Regions from separate parts of the Homo sapiens genome. Here all the other regions are linked to region 6. The links are contacts of gene promoters, found by promoter capture Hi-C in human tissues and cell types (Jung and others, 2019). All regions are on one chromosome and are shown on one strand. The core of a region is centred on a gene start or on the middle of the fragment in contact, and the rest is flanking DNA. Distances in the headings are between cores, read along the strand shown.

Evidence for each region. The method cuts DNA at HindIII sites, captures the fragments that hold promoters and counts their contacts. A contact is called where the count stands out against the background at its distance.
Region 1: a contact is called between a fragment that was not itself captured here and the fragment with the promoter of SHISA9 in region 6, in 2 of the 25 tissues and cell types used here (mesendoderm cells and thymus).
Region 2: a fragment that was not itself captured here is called in contact with the fragment with the promoter of SHISA9 in region 6 in 5 of the 25 tissues and cell types used here (H1 embryonic stem cells, dorsolateral prefrontal cortex, lymphoblastoid cells and 2 more).
Region 3: a contact is called between a fragment that was not itself captured here and the fragment with the promoter of SHISA9 in region 6, in 4 of the 25 tissues and cell types used here (dorsolateral prefrontal cortex, heart right ventricle, liver and 1 more).
Region 4: a contact is called between a fragment that was not itself captured here and the fragment with the promoter of SHISA9 in region 6, in 3 of the 25 tissues and cell types used here (bladder, lymphoblastoid cells and mesendoderm cells).
Region 5: a fragment that was not itself captured here is called in contact with the fragment with the promoter of SHISA9 in region 6 in 6 of the 25 tissues and cell types used here (H1 embryonic stem cells, dorsolateral prefrontal cortex, hippocampus and 3 more).
Region 7: a fragment that was not itself captured here is called in contact with the fragment with the promoter of SHISA9 in region 6 in 4 of the 25 tissues and cell types used here (dorsolateral prefrontal cortex, hippocampus, lymphoblastoid cells and 1 more).

Annotation. Positions count from the first base shown.
Region 1 is chr16:13,327,286-13,330,007 of GRCh38, reverse strand. It overlaps a transcript of SHISA9 not described here. Among named protein-coding and RNA genes, the nearest start is that of SHISA9, 430 kb to the right of the region's middle. The HindIII fragment of the contact is 4,216 bases long and covers 1-2,722 here.
Region 2 is chr16:13,309,574-13,312,319 of GRCh38, reverse strand. All of the region lies in intron 2 of LOC107984137 (a long non-coding RNA gene), which reads right to left. It also overlaps a transcript of SHISA9 not described here. Among named protein-coding and RNA genes, the nearest start is that of SHISA9, 410 kb to the right of the region's middle. The HindIII fragment of the contact is 3,497 bases long and covers 1-2,746 here.
Region 3 is chr16:13,252,873-13,255,572 of GRCh38, reverse strand. All of the region lies in intron 1 of LOC107984137 (a long non-coding RNA gene), which reads right to left. It also overlaps a transcript of SHISA9 not described here. Among named protein-coding and RNA genes, the nearest start is that of SHISA9, 350 kb to the right of the region's middle. The HindIII fragment of the contact is 4,487 bases long and covers 1-2,700 here.
Region 4 is chr16:13,374,309-13,377,008 of GRCh38, reverse strand. It overlaps a transcript of SHISA9 not described here. Among named protein-coding and RNA genes, the nearest start is that of SHISA9, 470 kb to the right of the region's middle. The HindIII fragment of the contact is 5,336 bases long and covers 1-2,700 here.
Region 5 is chr16:13,356,527-13,359,226 of GRCh38, reverse strand. It overlaps a transcript of SHISA9 not described here. Among named protein-coding and RNA genes, the nearest start is that of SHISA9, 460 kb to the right of the region's middle. RefSeq lists an enhancer at 876-1,822. The HindIII fragment of the contact is 3,925 bases long and covers 1-2,700 here.
Region 6 is chr16:12,900,232-12,903,041 of GRCh38, reverse strand. SHISA9 (shisa family member 9) reads right to left here and starts at 1,444. Exons shown (of 5, transcript NM_001145204.3): 1 at 415-1,444. The coding sequence starts at 977. The HindIII fragment of the contact is 6,671 bases long and covers 1-2,810 here.
Region 7 is chr16:13,390,718-13,393,417 of GRCh38, reverse strand. It overlaps a transcript of SHISA9 not described here. Among named protein-coding and RNA genes, the nearest start is that of SHISA9, 490 kb to the right of the region's middle. The HindIII fragment of the contact is 6,176 bases long and covers 1-2,700 here.

The DNA.
Region 1 (2,722 bases), core at 105-2,604, 430 kb before region 6:
TCGGTCGGGGAGGCAGACACTTGATATGTTTCCTACAATACAATATAATTAATGCTCAAGGCAAAGATACTGGGGGACGATTTATTGGATATCTGAGGAACTGCATGATTTCAGAGCTAAAACTATCCTTAAGAACCATCTAGTTCTAGCTCTTCATGAAAAGTCAAGAAATTGAACCCGAACAAACAACCCCAAATATCTTTCCAGGACGGACGCAACAATAAGCCATCATTTAGCTCAAGGTCTGCAGGTTGGCTAGGGGTGGGCTAGGAATTCACTGGCATGGCTCTACCTTTCTGCTGTTCTTTTCATCCAGCAGGTTGTCCTGGGCATGTTATTCTCCTAGCATGGAGGAGATGCAAGAGGGCAAAGGGAAACTCACAGGCCTGGGAAGGAGTAGTCTTGGAATTTTACATCACCTCAGCTTATTCTGTTGCCTAAAGAGAGTGACATAGCAGAACTCAAATTAGAGGAGTGGGAAGAAAATGAAAAGTCAACAAGGAAAATGATGTGGCTGGAGGGAGGGGTGAAGAATTAGGATCAACAATGCAACCTAGCACATGGATTTTAATCTGTATCCTTAACCCAGTAAGGCAGTGTCATTGTCTGAGGTAAATACCCAGGGTTCATCGTCTTGCCCCAAGAAGATGAGGATGCCAACACACACAAGGAGACAAGGAGTGAATTTAGGAGCGGAGGTTTAATAGAAGAAAGAGAAAGGAGAACAGCTCTCTCGCTTGCAAGAAAGAGGGGCGCCGGAAAGGAAAAACCAGCCTGCAGCAGACTGCTCCTGATTTTACAGGCAGGCTTGAGGAGGCTGTGTGTGATTTACTTAGCGAGCAGGGAAGGCTGGTCGCCCTACCCCAATCTTATTATGCAAATGGGGCCTTTGCCTGGCCAGCGTCATGTTGTCTTCTCCTTCCTGTACATGAGGTTTAGCAAAAAGAAGGGAAGATGGAGGCGCCATTTTTAACCTGCCTAGTCCCAGGCAGCCATTTTCTACTTGCACAACTGCCGGCATTCAACGGTGCAAGCTTCCAGCTCGCTTGTCTATGTCTGCAGCTCAATTTTACAGGGTGCTCCTTGTTAGGGAAAAAAAATGATTTGGGGGCTGCTTTTCATTGAAAGGAAAATGTTACTGAGGACTTCTGTATTCTCACTATCTGCCTAAATAATTTCTTCTTAACTCCTATATCACCAGTGCAGTAGGCTGCCTCTTATGAAAAATGTTGCTAGGCTGGGTATGGTGGCTCACACCTGTAATCCCAGCACTTTGGGAAGCTGAGGCGGGTGGATCGCCCGAGGTCAGGGGTACAAGACCAGCCTGGCCAACGTGGCAAAATCACGTCTCTGATAAAAATACAATATATATGTGTGTGTGTGTGTGTGTGTGTGTGTGTGTGTGTGTGTGTGTGTATACACATATATTTAGCCAGGCGTGGTGGTGGGCACCTGTAATTCTAGCTACTCAGAAGGCTGAGGCAGGAGAATCATTTGAACCTGGGAGGCAGAGGTGGCAGTGAGCCAAGATCACGCCATTGCATTCCAGCCTGGGTGACAAGAGTAAAATTCCTTAAAAAAAAAAAAAAAGGAAAAAGAGAAGAAAAAGGAAAAGAAAAATGTTGCTAACATGGGGAGGTTCAAACCCCCTGGTGGGTAGCTGAATCTGCAGACCTTGCACTTGTAATCACACTGGTGTTGTCCAGGGCGAAAATAGACTCTAACTAGAAACAGACTCTTACTAGAGAGCTGGCATTTAGGAGTTATGTTTTCTTCCCTTTCTAATCTACTCCAGTCTGCCTAAGATTCTGTAGAAGTGCACAGGGGCTAGAAGAAGTGATGGTGAGAGGCCCCTGCTCGAGGCCGAGTTTGAAATTAAGAGGAGGGGGAATGGGAAATATCTGTATTTAGGGGAGTGGGAGGGGCAGTTGCTCTCCCTTTGCATGCATTTCAAAAACAGATTTCTTGCGCAAAGCTAATAAATGCGCATGATGTTGTTATGAGTACGATGAAAGATTTTAGGTGACACAAGTATTAAAGTACAACCTTGGCGGGGCACAGTGGCTCACACCTGTAATCCTAGCACTTTGGGAGGCCGAAGTGGGTGGATCACTCCAGGTCAGGAGTGCAAGGCCAGCCTGGCCAACATGGAGAAACCCTGTCTCTACTAAAAAAATACAAAAATTAGCCAGGCGTGGTGGCAGGGGCCAGTAATCCCAACTACTTGGGAGGCTGAGGCACGAGAATCACTTGAACTCGGGAGGCGGAGGTTTCAGTGAGTAGAGATCGTGCCACTGCACTCCTGCCAGGGCAACAAAGCAAGACCCTGTCTCAAAAAAAAAGTGCAATCTTGAGGCTCAAAGAAAGGCAAGAGCTATGCCTTTTCTTTTTTGAGACAGAGTCTTGCCCTGTCACCCAGGCTGGAGTGCAGCAGCTCGATCTCAGCTCACTGCAACCTCTGCCTCCTGGGTTCAAGTGATTCTCCTGCCTCAGTCTCCCGAGTGTCTGGGATTACAGGTGCACAACACCACAGCCACCTAATTTTTGTATTTTTAGTAGAGATGGAGTTTCACCATATTGGTCAGGCTGGTCTCGAACTCTTGACCTCAGGTGATCCACCTGCCTCGGCCTCCCAAAGTGCTGGGATTATAGGCATGAGACACCGCACGTGGCTATGCCTTTTCATGAGCTTGCTAATCTACTAACTAAAAAGTACAGGGTC
Region 2 (2,746 bases), core at 69-2,568, 410 kb before region 6:
TAACAAACTACTGTCCATGGGCCACATCTGGCCCACTGTCTGTTTTTGTAAATAAAGTTTTATTGAAACAAGACCACACCCATTTGCTTATAAATTTTCCATGCCTGCTTTCATGCTACAGCAGCACACTTGGGGCATTGTGCAAACACCACAGGACCCATAAAGCCTAAAATATTTGCTATCTGACCCTTTACAGAAATATTAGTAGACTTCTGGGCTAAAATATTTTGAAGAATAAGCCTAAAGTTGGTATACACTGGTTTTAAAACCAAGTGAGTCAGTTAGATTGTCCCCCTCTCTTCCTGGACATCCTTCCTGAAAGCCACTGGGCATACACTTTTCTCAGGAGAAAAATAATAAACTGTTGTATAATTTTAATATGTTACAGGCAGGGTTCTAAGTGCTTTACCTATTTTAGTTCATTTAATTTTCACAGCAATCCTATAGTTACTATTATTATCTATCTCGTTTTTACATATAAGGAAGTTGACTTGCACAAAATCGTAACTGGTAAGTAGTAGAGGAAGGAATCACGCTTGGAAGTGGAAATTCAGGGTCTGTGTTCCTACCTGCCACATAACACTGCCTCCTAAGAGAAATGAGAGAAGGAACCAACGAGAACAATCTCCATTTATTTGAAAGCGAAGTAAATACAGATAGTCTGGAGTGGACATTGTATGTCATCCCAGCTCACAATCACCCTCTGTAGTTGCTGCCTTAATCCACAAAGGTAGTCTTCTAGTAGCACTGTGTAATCAACATTACTCAGCCCAAGCTACTTGAAACCCACCAAGGCTGGACCAATCAGAGTCTTTTCCCTCCCAGGAGTTAAAAGGAAGAGAAAACGAGTCTCTACATGGGGCTGGGCTTGAGACGTATATTTGTAAAAGCTATTTAGGGTTGGCAGAAAAAAATATTGAATTCTCATTTAAGCTTATATTTCTAATAAACAATGAAATATTTTTAGTGTAAATACACCCAGTTATTGCGTAGGATGAACACTAAAAATCTTTATTCTTTAGCGGAAATTTAAATGTAATCAAGCATCAAACACATATATACGAGATACATAATATATAAAATATATATGTATCTATAAAGTTTTTGCTAAACCTGGTAGCCTTATGAATGTCTTTGTTTTGGAGAAATCTTGCATGAAGAGCAAGAAGAATCAGGCAGACAGAGAAGCAGAAACGAGAGACAGAGTATCTTCTAGGCCCTGCAATCCCTTTTTGCATTCTCACTCTTGGGTTTTACATGGACTCCTGCTTACAACCTGAAATCATCCTTAGAAGATAGTCCTTCAGTAGAAGATGTGAATGTTAAAGCATAAAATCAGGCCGGGTGTGGTGGCTCACGCCTGTAATACCAGCACGTTGGGAGGCCGAGGTGGGTGGATCACGAGGTCAAGAGATTGAGACCATCCTGGCCAACAGGATGAAACCCCGTCTCTACTAAAAATACAAAAATTAGCTGTGAATGGTGGCAGGCCCCTGTAGTCCCAGCTGCTTGAGAGGCTGAGGCAGGAGAATTGCTTGGACCTGGGAGGCCGAGGTTGCAGTGGGCCGAGATTGCACCACTGCACTCCAGCCTGGTGACAGAGCAAGACTCCGTCTCAAAAAAAAAAAAAAAAAAGCATAAAAATCAATGACATTAATTATAATGCAGTGGAGAATTTAGACCAAACATTCACATTTCTAATTTTTTGCTAAAAGTCCTTCAAGATAGAGGATTTCAGTAGACACATGATTCAACATGATGGCTTTTATTTCATCCTAACCTTATTGACTTAGAATGCCCCTATTAAATAATCACACCTCTAGGAATGATAACGTAAAAATCAAGATAGCAATTCTGTAGGTTGAGAGTGGGATAAGGCAGAGGAGGAACACACAAAGACCTTCAAATGAATTCATGGGGTTTATTTCTTAAACTATGTGATAAATATCTGGATGTTCACTAAACTGTTCTTTAAACATTTTTTATGTCCTAAATGTTTCATAGTAGAAAAAAAAAAGCAGCTTTTTAAAAGCCCACCTCCAGTCCTTGAATTCAGTTATAACTGTAACACGAGTTGAATGGAAAAGCTTAAAATTTGTTTTCTCTTGATTTGGCATTTAAAATACAGAACAGGCCGGGAGCAGTGGCTCACGCCTGTAATCCCAGCACTATGGGAGGCCGAGGCAGGTGGATCACCTGAGGTCAGCAGTTCAAGACCAGCCTGGCCAACATGGTGAAACCCCATCTCTACTAAAAATATAAAAATTAGCCAGGTATGGTGGCGCATTCTTGTAATCCCACCTACTTTGAGGGCTGAGGCAGGAGAATCACTTGAACTTGGGAGGCAGAGGTTGCAGTGAGCCGAGATCGTGCCATTGCACTCCAGCCTGGGCAACAAGAGTGAGACTCTGTCTCAAAATAAATAAATAAATAAATAAATAGATAAGTAAATAAATAAATAAAATACAGAACTTGGATTTTGTTTGGAGTTTTTTGTTTGTTTGTTGTTTTAGGTTTGGTCTAGTGTTCCCAAGAGTGTGGTCATGACCCATTATCTAGAATCTTAGCTTTCTAAGCACTGAGAACAGCACCTCACAAATCATAAAAGAGTTAAAAATATATCCCTCTGGCATGTTAACTATTTTTTCTCCAACTTTCTTTTTTTTTTTTTTTTTTTGAGACTGAGTCTCTCTCTGTCACCCAGGCTGGAGTACAGTGGCGTGATCTCGGCTCACTGCAACCTCCA
Region 3 (2,700 bases), core at 176-2,675, 350 kb before region 6:
AGCCAGATCTGGATTTCACTTCTGCCTTCTGAACTTGAATGGTACTTTTTTTAGACAACAGAAGTAGGAGTGAAAGATGGCAGTGATGGTTTAATGTGAACTGACCTAAAGATAGAATGAATCCTTTGTATGTATATGAAAGAGAAAGACACACACATAAAGAGACACAGAGTCCCAAAGATAGAGGGCAAGAGAGAAGAGACATAAGGTCAAACAGAGAGAATGTGTTTCAGAGAAAGGCAGATCTCAGAGGATGAGAAATGCATGAAACAAAAAGGAAGAAAGATGCCTAGACAGAAAGAGAATGAGAGAGGGAGAGAGAGAGACAGAAAGGGGAAGAATTGAGGGAGAGGAAGAGGAACAGAGAGGAAAAGGAGCATGAAGGAGAAAGATATAGTCAAAGTAGAACCATAGCAAGAGAGAGAAGAGGAAGTGTGAGAAAGCAGTGAGAGGTTAGGGGACGTAACAGGCATCAGTGATGTCCTCCACCTGCTAAAGCCAGGTATCCAAGTCTGCAGTGTTATTAGATAGAGGAGCAAAGAAGAAAAAGAGGATGATATAGAAAGAAGGAAAAAAAATTAAAGAAGCTCCTCCTGGGAGGTGAGGGGAACAGATACTTTCCTGCTGCTCAAACAGCTCAAGTTCAGGTTCAGGCCTGATCCTCTGCTACTTGGTATTAATCTACTGATCCATTACAAGACCACGTCGCCTCTGGGCAACACCTGCTCAACAAGGCTCCTGGCACTTAACAAGCCCGGAAGGGACTGTTTCTTCATTTGTTGAAGTCCAGTGCTTTCACTTTGCCCCAAGGTGTCCGCTGAGGATTCACTGGGAAGCCCCAAAGACAGGAGCATTTTGATGTTGCTTCTGAAGAATTTGCCACCTGAAAGACTCTATTTGGTTCTGGGGGAGGTGATTAGTGGGGCCAAGAGGCCCCTTTCTGGAAAGAACGTCATGGTAATTGCTGACAGCCCGCTGTACGATGGATGGAAAAGTCCAGAAATAACAAGAATAATGAATAAGCAATCAGTCTATTCTCAAGTCTGCTATTATTGCCTTTCTAATTGGGTGTCTCAGAGTCTCCTGGGATTCCCTAAACTCTGTTCCCAGAGAGACCTAGCAACCAAGGCTGGTGACATAATAACTCGTAACAAACCCTCCGGTTGGAACTGATGGTCATGCTGGAAGCAGTGACAAGTGGTCCTGTTGTCTTATCTTCTCTCTCCCCTAAATCTGTGAAGGCTGGACATGGAAAGTTTTGGACCAGATGATAGACTTGAGTCTGAATCCCAGTTCTGCCAATTTCTAGCTGCTTGGCTTTGGGCAAATCACTTCATCTAAAATTAGGGTTAATAGTTCCCACCTCATATGATTTGTGTGAAGACAACTGCTAATGTATGCAAATTGCCTGGCACATAGTAGACTTTCAATAAATGGTAATTATTAGTATTATTATTATAGAGGGCATCTTTGGCAAGGATAGAAAAGATTGGCAGCCTGACAAAGATGAAGCCAGAGCTCCATTTTGAAAACTACCACTGAAGTGTGCAGTAGCCCTAATTAGAATTTTTGTTAAGTTCTGATAATGAGAAATGTTTGAGAAGACATTTTTCAGTCTCCCTGAAGAAAACAGGAAGTGGAAGGATTTTTAAAAAGTGAAAAAAAAAGTAACCTTCAGTAATGTCTTATTTTTCTCTTCCTAATCTTGGTGAATGTTAAAATAAATTGGATGAAATGTGTCACCTTTTGACCTTATGGGGACGTTTCATAATACTCCTGTCCATGGATAATTAATGCCCAAGTGGATATATTTCTGATATGGTTTGGCTGTGTCCCCACCCAAATCTCATCTTGAATTTTAGCTCCCATAATTCTCATGTGTTGTGGGAGGGATCTTGTGGGAGATAATTGAATCATGGGGTGGTTTCCTCCATACTGTTTTTGCCATAGTGAATAAGTCTCACGAGATCTGATGGTTTTATAAATGGGAGTTCCCCTGCACAAGCTCTCTTGCCTGCCACAATGCAAGATTCGACTTTGCTTCTTTTTTACCTTCTACCATGATTGTGAGGCCTCCCCAGCCACGTGGAACTGTAAGTCCATTAAACCTCTTCTTATATAAATTACCCAGCCTTCGGTATGTCTTTATTAGCAGTGGAGAACAGACTAACACACACTGCCATCTCCCTTGTACCTTTGGACAGGTGTTCCCATAAGCACTGATGACGTTGACATGATAGTAGAAGAGATGCACCTCAAACCTCAGCCTCACGATACAGTTGACTCTTGAACAACTCCTACCCCCACACAGTCAAAAATCTGCATATAACTTTCGACTATTCCAAAATTTAACTAGTAGTAGCCTATTATTGACCAGAAATCCTACTAATAATAAAACAGTCAAGTAACACACATTTTGCATGTTATATGTATTACATACTGTATTCTTATAATAAAGTAAGCTAGAGAAAATAAAATGTTATTATTAAGAAAATCACGAGGAAGGGAAAATATATTTCCTATTTATTAAGTGGAAGTGGATCATCATGAAGGTCTTCATCCTCATCGTCTTCATTTTGAGGAGGCTAAAGAAGAGGAGTGAGAAGAGGAGTTGGTCTTGCTATTTCAGGGGTGGTACAGGCAGAAGAAAATGCAAGTATAAATGGACCTACACAGTTCAAACCCATGTTGTTCAAGGGT
Region 4 (2,700 bases), core at 68-2,567, 470 kb before region 6:
ATCTGTCTTTTTTGATACAAATACCCTATCATGGTCAGGCATGATGGATTATGCCTGTAATGCCAGCATTTTGGGATGCCAAGGCGGGTGGATCACTTGAGTGCAGGAGTTCGAAACCAGCCTGGGCAACACATCTCTACAAGAAATACAAAAATTAGCTGGGCATAGTGGTGTGCACCTGTAGTCTCAGCTACTCAGGAGGCTGAGGTGGGAGGATCGCCCAAGAGGTCAAGGCTGCAGTGAGCTGAGTTCATGCCACTGCACTCCAGCCTGGGCAATGGAGTGAGACCCTGTCTCCAAAAAGATAAGAAAGAAAATAAACACCCTATAATTTACAGAATAAGGGATGTTCTTTCAGCTCCACCCCTGGAAACAGAAATTTAATTTTTAACCAATCTAAAATAAAAAAAATCCATGTGTTTGCTCATAGCCATGGTCCTGATTCAATTTTCTGCAACTTTACTTTCTCTTGGACTCTCTGGAAAAAAACAGCTCTGGTTATAGAGGTAAAAGCTGAAATGACTTCAGATACATTAGAGAGGTGAGTGGGCTGACATGGGATTTCCCCACCTGGCTGTAAATGTGCTGAGAAGCATGTAGTCATATAAGTGTGTTGACATCATCTTCACACTTTCTGAAGATTCTTCCAGAGAATCAGTCAGGCTCCAGGAGTGACTAGACCTCCAAATTATTATGCCATGACTCTATCTAAAATATCACCTGAACATATTATAATTGCTCAAAATATTTACTGCCACTCCCTAAGGGAGGATTATACATTTGTGTTCATTGAAACCATGTTTTAGCCATATGACGTGCTTATGCCATTGGAATGTGAACCAAAATGATGTGGAACAATTATGAGCAGAATTTTTCAGAGTCATTGTGTGGTATTTCATTTTCTCTCTTTTTTCTAGGGAACACAATTATCAATGTCCAAGATGGACTTCTTCCATCACCTGGGTACCTGTTTTGATTGCTGTAACTTTTGAAATCAGAAAACGTGAGTTTTCCAATTTTAAGATTTTTTTTTTCCCACTATTTGAAACCCCTTGTATTTTGCTACTTGAAACCCCATATAAATTTTAGGATCAGCCTGCCAAATGCTGCAAAAACGGGAGCTAGGATTTTGATAGGTGTTGGGTTGAATCTTCAGATCTATTTGGAGAGTGTTGCCATTTTAGCAATATTAAGTCTTCTTATCCATGAATACAGGATAGCTTTCCACTTACTTAGGTCTTCTTTAGTTGCTTTCAGTGATGTGTTGTAGTGTTTAGTGTACAAGTCTTAGGCTTCTTTTCTTAATTTCTTAAGTTTTTTGTTTTTTTGTTTTTTGGCTATTGCTAATGGAATTGTTTTCTTAGTTTTCTTTTTGGATGTTTTCTTTTTTCTATTTGAAAGTCACGCTACCTGACTTCAAACTATACTACAAGGCTACAGTAACCAAAACAGCATGGTACTGGTACCAAAACAGAGATATAGACCAATGGAACAGAACAGAGCTCTCAGAAATAATACCACACATCTACAACCACCTGATCTTTGACAAACCTGACAAAAACAAGAAATGGGGAAAGGATTCCCTATTTAATAAATGGTGCTGGGAAAACTGGCTAGCCATATGTAGAAAGCTGAAACCAGATCCCTTCCTTACATCTTATACAAAAATTAATTCAAGATGGATTAAAGACTTAAATGTTAGACCTAAAACCATAAAAACTCTGGAAGAAAACCTAGGCAATACCATTCAGGACATAGGCATGGGAAAGGACTTCATGACTGAAACACCAAAAGCAATGGCAACAGAAGCCACAATTGACAAATGGGATCTAATTAAACTAAAGAGCTTCTGCACAGCAAAAGAAACTACCATCGGAGTGAACAGGCAACCTACAGAATGGGAGAAAATTTTTACAATCTACCCACCTGACAAAGGGCTAATATCCAGAATCTACAAAGAACTTAAACAAATTTACGAGAAAAAATCAAACAACCCCACCCCATCAAAAAGTGGGCAAAGGATATGAACAGACGCTTCTCAAAAGAAGACATTTATGCAGCCAACAGACACATGAAAAAATGCTCATCATCGCTGGCCATCAGAGAAATGCAACTCAAAACCACAATGAGATACCATCTCACACCAGTTAGAATGGCAGTCATTAAAAAGTCAGGAAACAACAGATGCTGGAGAGGATGTGGAGAAATAGGAACACTTCTACACTGTTGGTGGGACTGTAAACTAGTTCAACCATTGTGGAAGACAGTGTGGCGATTCCTCAAGGATCTAGTACTAGAAATACCATTTGACCCAGGCATCCCATTAATAGGCATATACCCAAAGAACTATAAATCATGCTGCTATAAAGACACATGCACACATATGTTTATTGCAGCACTATTCACAATAGCAAAGACTTGGAACCAACCCAAATGTCCATCAATGATAGACTGGATTAAGAAAATGTGGCACATATACACCATGGAATACTATGCAGCCATAAAAAAGGATGAGTTCATGTCCTTTGTAGGGACATGGATGAAGCTAGAAACCATCATTCTGAGCAAACTATTGCAAGGACAGAAAAACAAACACCACATGTTCTCACTCATAGGTGGGAATTGAACAAAGAGGACACTTGGACACAAGGTGGGGAACATCACACACTGGGGTCTGTCATGGATGGAGGGCCAGGGGAG
Region 5 (2,700 bases), core at 33-2,532, 460 kb before region 6:
TTACAGTGAAAATGGCAACAGTATTAACAAGTTGATTCTCCTCAGTACTAATTATTGGAATTTTGAAGATTTATTGTTTTGCAGACTAGGATCTAAAACTGGACATTCTTCTGGAGAATCTAAAACTGGACATTCTTCTTCAGTTGAAGTCCAACGGATGGGAATTGCATTTCTCATCCTAATCAAGAAATTCTTTACCTTCAGGAATACAGAGCTATTAAAGTTCTAGGCTTCATGCCTCTGAGGAGGTATTCCAAAAATTCCATCAGTAATCTGCTAAGTTCAGTACCATACACAGTGTATTGAGGTCTTTTCCTGTATTCCTCATTCCAGCAGGTCCTTCTAACACTATTTGGTCCTAAAAACACCCTGTCTTCTAGGCCTGTCAATCATATCATGTTCATCTTTTTATGGCTCTGCTGAAAACAGCCAAGAGAAAGGTTATTACAGCTGCTGTTGATGTCTGGAACTCATAACTGTCAACAGTCTTATGTTGGTCAGGTATAAGGCAGAGAGGGGTTCCCATCTTTCTCTATCTGGAGGCCTTTCACTGGTTGGTTGAAGCACTTACAATTATGCTGAATGTATTGGTGAAAATTCTGAAAAGAGAATACTCTCTTACGGTTTTTGGGTCCTGAAGAATGTAAAGGAAAGGGAAGGAAATGGGAAGAGATAGAGGAATTGTATTAGCATCTACTTATGCCAGCAACATCCTCACGGAATATTTTATGTAATCCCCTTAGGTTGGTAACAGATTAGGTAGCTGATCTAAGAAAATGAGAGAGAACACGTGGACACAGCGAAGGGAACATCACACAGCACAGCCTGTTGGGGGGTGGGGGACAAAGGGAGGGACAGCATTAGAAGAGAGACTTTTTAAAGTCCAAAATCCCAAGCTTTTAAAACCAGGATTTGAATACAGGTATCTCACTCAAAACCCAGATGTCAAATATAGCACCTCATGCTCCCAGGTAGACATCACTAATCAATCAGGTCTTTTAGTCCATTGATTTCAGAATCCTTCTCACCCCAGTATCCCAGATAGTCACTACCAATCATAGCTAGTAGTGAGGGCCAATTGCTACCCTTTCCACTTGCTAAAACTTGCTGGATGAAGGAAGATTCTCTCTTTTCAAGGGAGGCCGTACCCATCACAGAGGCATACTGTCAGGCCTCTAAGCCCAAGCCAAGCCATCACATCCCCTGTGACCTGCACGTATATATATCGCCCAGATGGCCTGAAGTAACTAAAGAATCACAAAAGAAGTGAATATGCCCTGCCCCACCTTAACTGATGACATTCCACCACAAAAGAAGTGTAAATGGCCGGTCATTGCCTTAACTGATGACATTACCTTGTGAAAGTCCTTTTCCTGGCTCATCCTGGCTCAAAAAGCACCCCCACTGAGCACCTTGCGACCCCCACTCCTGCCCACTGAGCACCTTGCGACCCCCACTCCTACCCGCCAGAGAACAAACCCCCTTTGACTGTAATTTTCCTTTACCTATCCAAATCCTATAAAACGGCCCCACCCTATGTCCCTTCGCTGACTCTCTTTTTGGACTCAGCCCGCCTGCACCCAGGTGAAATAAACAGCCATGTTGCTCACACAAAGCCTGTTTGGTGGTCTCTTCACACGGACGCGCATGAAATTTGGTGCTGTGACTCGGATCGGGGGACCTCCCTTAGGAGACCAATCCCCTGTCCTCCTGCTCTTTGCTCCGTGACAAAGATCCACCTACGACCTCAAGTCCTCAGACCCACCAGCCCAAGAAACATCTCACCAATTTCAAATCCGGTAAGCGGCCTCTTTTTACTCTCTTCTCCAACCTCCCTCACTATCCCTCAACCTCTTTCTCCTTTCAATCTTAGCGCCACACTTCAATCTCTCCCTTCTCTTAATTTCAATTCCTTTCATTTTCTAGTAGAGACAAAAGAGACATGTTTTATCCGTGAACCCAAAACTCCGGCGCCGGTCACGGACTTCACCCTTAGCGGCAAGTCCCGCTTTCCTAGGGGGCAAGAACCCCCCAGTCGCTTATTTCCGCACCCCAGCCTCTTATCTCTGTGCCCCAATCCCTTATTTCCGTGCCCCAACCCCTTCTCTGCTTTTCTGGAGGGCAAGAACCCTCCACCCCTTCTCCGTGTCTCTACTGTTTTCTGTGGGTTTGCCTCCTTCACTATAGGTAAGCTTCCACCTTCCATTCCTCCTTCTTCTCCCTTAGCCTGTGTTCTCAAAAACTTAAAACCTCTTCAACTCACACCTGACCTAAAACCTAAATGCCTTTTCTTCTGCAATGCCGTTTGACCCCAATACAAACTCGACGGTAGTTCCAAATAGCCAGAAAATGGCACTTTGAATTTTTCCATCCTGCAAAATCTAAATAATTCTTGTCGTAAAATAGGCAAACGGTCTGAGGTGCCTGACGTCCAGGCATTCTTTTACACATCAGTCCCTTCCTAGTCTCTGTGCCCAGTGCAACTTGTCCCAAATCTTCCTTCTTACCCTCCCACCTGTCCCCTCAGAACCAACCCCAAGCGTCGCTGAGTCTTTCTAATCTTCCTTTTCTACAGACCCATCTGACCCCTCCCTTCCTCCCCAGGCTGCTCCTCACCAGGCCGAGCTAGGTCCCAATCCTTCCTCAGCCTCTGCTCCTCCACCCTATAATCTTTTTATCACCTCCCCTCCTCACACCTGG
Region 6 (2,810 bases), core at 195-2,694:
TTCGGGCTCGCCTGCCCCTGTTTACCAAAAAGCTAGCACCTGGAATCCGAGGGGTGCCATGGACCCTCTCCCCAAACCCGAAGATTTCGGGGCCACGGGCTCCCAGGCTACGTGTCTCAAGTCCGCCTCAGTCACCAGCGGGAGGAGGCGGCCAGAGGGTGAGGGAGCAGAGTCACACACACACACACACACGCTCACACACACACGAACACGCTCAGACCCACACCTGTGCTGAGCCCAGCGCCCCTTCTCCGTGTTCCAAGCCGAAGTTGGCTTCCCGGTGACATCCCCCAGCGGAGAGGCTGGGATGCGGGGAGCGGGGACCGTGGGGAGCGCCATTGCCTGGGGGAAGGTGGGGAGGAGAGAGCAGGGAGAGCGAAGCCCCGAGGGGAGGGCGAAGGGGAGGCAGCCCACCTGGACATGTGCTCCCTTTGGGGCCGGTGCGCTTTCTCCAGCCCCAGCTTGGTGAAGATGCCCACGAGCACCATGACGGCCACCACCCCGCAGATGATGTAGACGATCAGGTTGGTCTTGTCCTTGGTGGGGTCGTGCAAGGGGTCGTCCTTGCGGGCGGGGGGCTTGCCGGTGTTGAGCCAGAGCGGCGTGTCGTAGTTGGTGCAGGTGCTTTGGTTCAGTCGCCGCTTCTTAAACGTGCAGCAGAACCGGAAGCCACAAGTCCCGCAGCAGAAGATGAAGTCGCCCGAGCTGCAGTTGAACGGCGGGTCCCACTGGCCCATGACATCGAAGTAGCCCCGGCAGAAGTCCGGCGTGGGCGCCCGGGTCGGGGGCGCGTCCGATGCCTCAGCGCCCTCGCTGGCCTCTCCGGAGGCGGCCCCGGAGCGGTTGCCCCCCGCCAGCAGCAACACGCCGCCCAGTTGCGCCAGCTGCCCGTGTCCCGCTCGCTCCTGCGCCCGGCACACGCGGGCGCACAGCTCGGTGAGGAAGCAACCGAGGAGCAGCCGAAGGACGCGGCGCATGGTGTCTCCCAGCCCGGGCTCGGCCGCTCGGCCGCCGCTGGAGCCTCTGCGGCCGCCTCTCGAGGCGCGGCCGAAGCTGCCGAGGCTGCTGCCGGGAGCTGCGAGCCGCCGCGGGCCGCACATGCAGGGAGCGGCGCGGGGCGCTCGGTGGTCGGCGGCCACTGCGCTCGGCTCAGCCCGCGTTCGCCTCAGCCCGCGTTCGCCTCCAGCGCGCCGCGCGCCGAGGGGCCGGCCGGGGAGGAGCGCGCCCGGCCGGGCGGGGGGAGGATGAGCGGGGTCAAGCGCGGGGTGCAGGTCCGGCCGGCCACTGGGTGAGGCGGGGGTGGAGAGCAGAGGAGAATCGGGCTGGCAGCGCCTAGCCTTGGCCGGCAGCCCCGGACTGGCCGCCCCTAGCCCTCTCGCAGTATCCCTCTCACCTCACCAGCTCGCCAAGTGCGCTGAAGAGAGCGAAGCGACACTTGTGGAATGAAGGGAGGGCAGGAGGGAAGGGGGAGGGGGAGGAGGGCGGGCAGAGGAGGCGCGGGTGGGGGGGGGCGGGCGCGAGCTCTAGAGGGGCGGGGGCGCGGGGAAGAGGTGACTAGAGCGGGAGCTAGCTGGGGGGCGTGCAGAGCTGAGCCAGGCGAGCGGACGGGGAGGAGCGAGCTCGGCAGCAGCCGAGGCTAGAGGAGCCGCTCGGATTTCCAGGCAGGTGGAAAACCGCGGCAGGACCTCCCGCGCCCTCTCTGGGTAGGAGGCGCGGCTCAGCCCTGTCCAGAGCGCAGAGGCGGCTCAGCTCGTAGCTTTTTCACCGGTGCGTGTGCAGGAGCGGCGGCCGAAATCTGTGCATCAGGGGAAGGATGACTCGGAGAGGATGGGGACAGACTAAATGGCTTTCACTCCAAGACAGACTGGGTGCAGTCTGGTCAGGATCGCCCCTCCCAGGCGTGCGGGGCCTCCTTGCCCTTCCCGGCTGCGCCCTCCAGCCCTGAGCGCAACCCGCATGGCTCAACTCTCTGGGCCCAAGCAAGGACCCAGGCGGAGCTGGGAAGGACAGGTGGCAAGCCCCTGAGCCAGGGATAAGCACCCTCCGGGGGAGAGGGGCTCGGGATGAACGAATCAAAGAAGGTCGGGGGTAAGAGGGGACAGCCGAACAAGGCCGAGGCTATGGCGTGTCCTGGAAGGTCTTTCCTTGGAAGTCCCCCAGCCTCTCGAACCTGCCGCTTTCTGTCCCTCTTCGCCCCCGCAGCGTTTTCTGCGCTCCACAGGAGGGAACACCGCGGCGCCGCCTCTGCGCTCCCGGATCTGGCGCAGCGCAAGGCCTGGGCACCCAGCCTCAGCCACCCTCCCGGACCTGGAGCCCGCGCATCGGTCTCTGGAGCTGGCTGGCCCCTGTCCCCACGGATCCCCCCGGAAATCCTCACCGGGGGCTGCAGAGCTCTGCCTTGCTTCCTCAGCTTCCAGCCTCCCGTCTCCTCTGTGTTTCCAAATCTGCCCTCTCTCTCCTAGCGAATTCCAGCTCCCCGGAGGCCCTCTCTCATTTCTCCCACCTCTTTCTCTCCTCTGCTTGAATTTGACTCCAGTAGCCCCAAAACAGGATTTGCACCAAAGCTGCTACACCAAATTTAGATCTCCCCACGCCCCGGCGTTTTGTTTTTTAATTGCATTAACTAAGTATACACTTTGCAGGCTGCTAGGCGATTTGCAAGGAGATAATGTTTCCACAACCCTCCTCTCCACTTGGCTGCAGTCAAGGGCTTCTCAGGGCATCTTCAGAGAACGAAAAGTTGGGCGACATGTAAAATGGTTTACTAGGGTCCCCTGAATTGAGAAAGGGTGGGAGGATTTATTGGGACT
Region 7 (2,700 bases), core at 46-2,545, 490 kb before region 6:
TAGATGGGATCTGATCGAAAGAGGGAAAGTTGGTGAGACATTTGGGGAAAGGAATGGCCACACAATTTTGGGGGGCCCAGTGCAAAGTGAAAATGCTGGGCTCTTGTTCAAAAATTAAGAATTTCAAGATGGCAACACCAGAGAATTAAAATAGGAGTGGGCCCTGTGTGACTGCACAGGTCACACACCCGTGGAGCTGGCCCTGCTTGGGGTATTTCAATCCCCCAACAGTGGATACAGTGAGCACGAGGGTATCAGGAGCAAACATCTGTGTGATCAGTTTGAAGCAGGTTTGGAATGGGGCCAGCTGATTGGTTCAGGGCACACCTTCCCCCAGGCCTGAAAGCCTCCATTTGGTTCCCATCAGTGGGCAGAATTTGTTCTCCCATCCTGGGGCGTTGTATTAGTTTCCAAGGGCTGCTGTAACAAGGTACCACGACCTGTTTCGCTTAAAAGCCAGACATTTATCATCTCACAGCTCTGGAGGGCCAAAATCAAGGTGTCAACAAAATTGGTTTCTTCTAAGGCTGTGAGTAAGAGAATCCCTTCCAGGCCTCTGCCTTAGCTTCTCGTGCTTTGCAGGCAGTCTTTGGTGCTCCTTGGTTTATATTAATAGAAGCAGATGGTCTCTGCCTTTATCTTCACACAGTGTTCTCCGTGTGTGCATATTTCTGTGTACAAATTTCCCCATTTTATATGACACCAGTCATATCGCAGCCTCCACAGCAAATCGGTTTTATTTCTTTAACCTCTTAACGCAGTGGGTGTTGGGACTTTAGAGACCTAAGACCTATGCTTTGGAGTACATCATTGTGAGCCTAGGTTAATCAGAGGGACTGTTTGACCTCTAAGTGATCTGTAATGCCGCCACCTGCTGATTCCATGCTGTAGTCCCTGGGCTGTAAAATGGAGCCCCAACTGAATTCAGTAAAAGGTCTACATCCTTCAGTAGGTGAATCAATAAACTGTGGTACATCCAGACAATGAAACATGTTTTCTTTTTTAAATGTATATATTTAAGGTGTACAATATAATGTTTTAATATACATGTACATAATGGAATGCTTTCCACTTTTACCATGAAAAATAGATTGTTATCTAGAACTAAAAAGAAGGGAGCTGTCAAGTCATCACACTCCAGTAGGGCCTTATCTTAACTAATCACAGCTCCAAAGAGTCTATTTCCAAAACAATCACATTCTAAGGCACTGGGAGTTAAGACTTCAACATAAGAATATTAGGAAGACACAACTAATCCATAACAGGTGTATTTAGGATGTTCGAGGTACCTTTACTCCCAGGGGTGAAGATACCTTTCCTCCCAGGAAAAAACCAGGTAGGAAAGCTGCCCTGCTGCACACCTCAGCTGGCAACACGTTGTTCCTCACCTCCACAATCACTGGCAGCAGATGGCTATAAACAGATACCAGCAAACCGGGACCATCAGACACTCGGGGCAAACCAAATGTCTGAGAATGAGGTAGTCACTTTTGAAGAATATCATTTGATTAAATCTGCATCATTCCAAACAGATGGACTTTTCATAGTCCTCTGACAGTCCCTGAATTGCCACCGTTATTACCCAACAGGTACAGTCATTTATTGAGCTACTTTACCTGCAGTCAGGTTACAGAGTTCAAAAACTTTGTTGCTTGGCTCCCAGGGTTATCCAAGATCAGAGGTCTGCAACCTTAGCTGCACAATGGAGTCACCTGGGGGCCTCCAAAAATATTGATTCCTGGATTCCACCCTTTAATTGATCTAGGGTGGAACCTGGACACTGAGATGTTTTTTAAGCTCTCAGGTGATCACAGTGCACTGCTAAGGTCTAGAACCACTGGCTTGGAACTCCCCCCGAACCCAGCCATCTGTGTAACTGTAATAATGCATATTGACTGCAGATGGCACGGCATAGATTCGTTGGGGACTGATTTTTGTTTGCTGCTTCCAAGTATAATACTTCAGTATCTCTTCTCTCTAACTCTGTAACACCAAGTGCCTTGTTTTCCCTTTCTTTAGCCTTTTTTCAGTTGTGAAGGAGCTAAATCTCTGCTGTACAGAGCTACAGTTTTGCTTACAAAGGCAAGACCTCAGATGGAAACTGAGGCCTACAGCAGCACAGTGAATTATACCAAGACTAAGTTAAGCAGATAATAGACTTATATTTAGTACAATTTAATGTAAGGAGCAATAATGTGGGCTATAGCATCTTTTTTCCAAGGGTTCATGTTGATCTCACTTACTCTATTCAGCAGGACACACTGCTTTATGGTTTCAGTGAATGTCACTCTATCTCTTGCCTTCTCTTCCTCTTACTGTCACTCTTATCAACTCTTTTCTACCCTCTCTTTAATTCTCATCCTCTTTCTCCACTCCTGTTCTCTCTCATGTTGTCTCCCCTTTTCTTTACTCTTTTCTCCTCAATATTCTTGCTTTCACAGATTGCCATGGTTGGAATGGAGATTCAGCAGCCAAAGTGTTACGAAAATCAAGATATGCCACATGCATACCCTGCAGTTGCCTGAGATATCTCAGACTGCCTCTTGTGAAAGATATGAGAAGACACACACAGCCAAGAGAAGTCACCTAAGTATTTCTTTTCATCAGCCCATGAAATCTTCTTTCTCCCAAAGCCTTTCTTTCCATTTTGTGGTGTCACCCAGCGTGCTGATCTCAGAAACTACCTGGAAAAGTGCTACA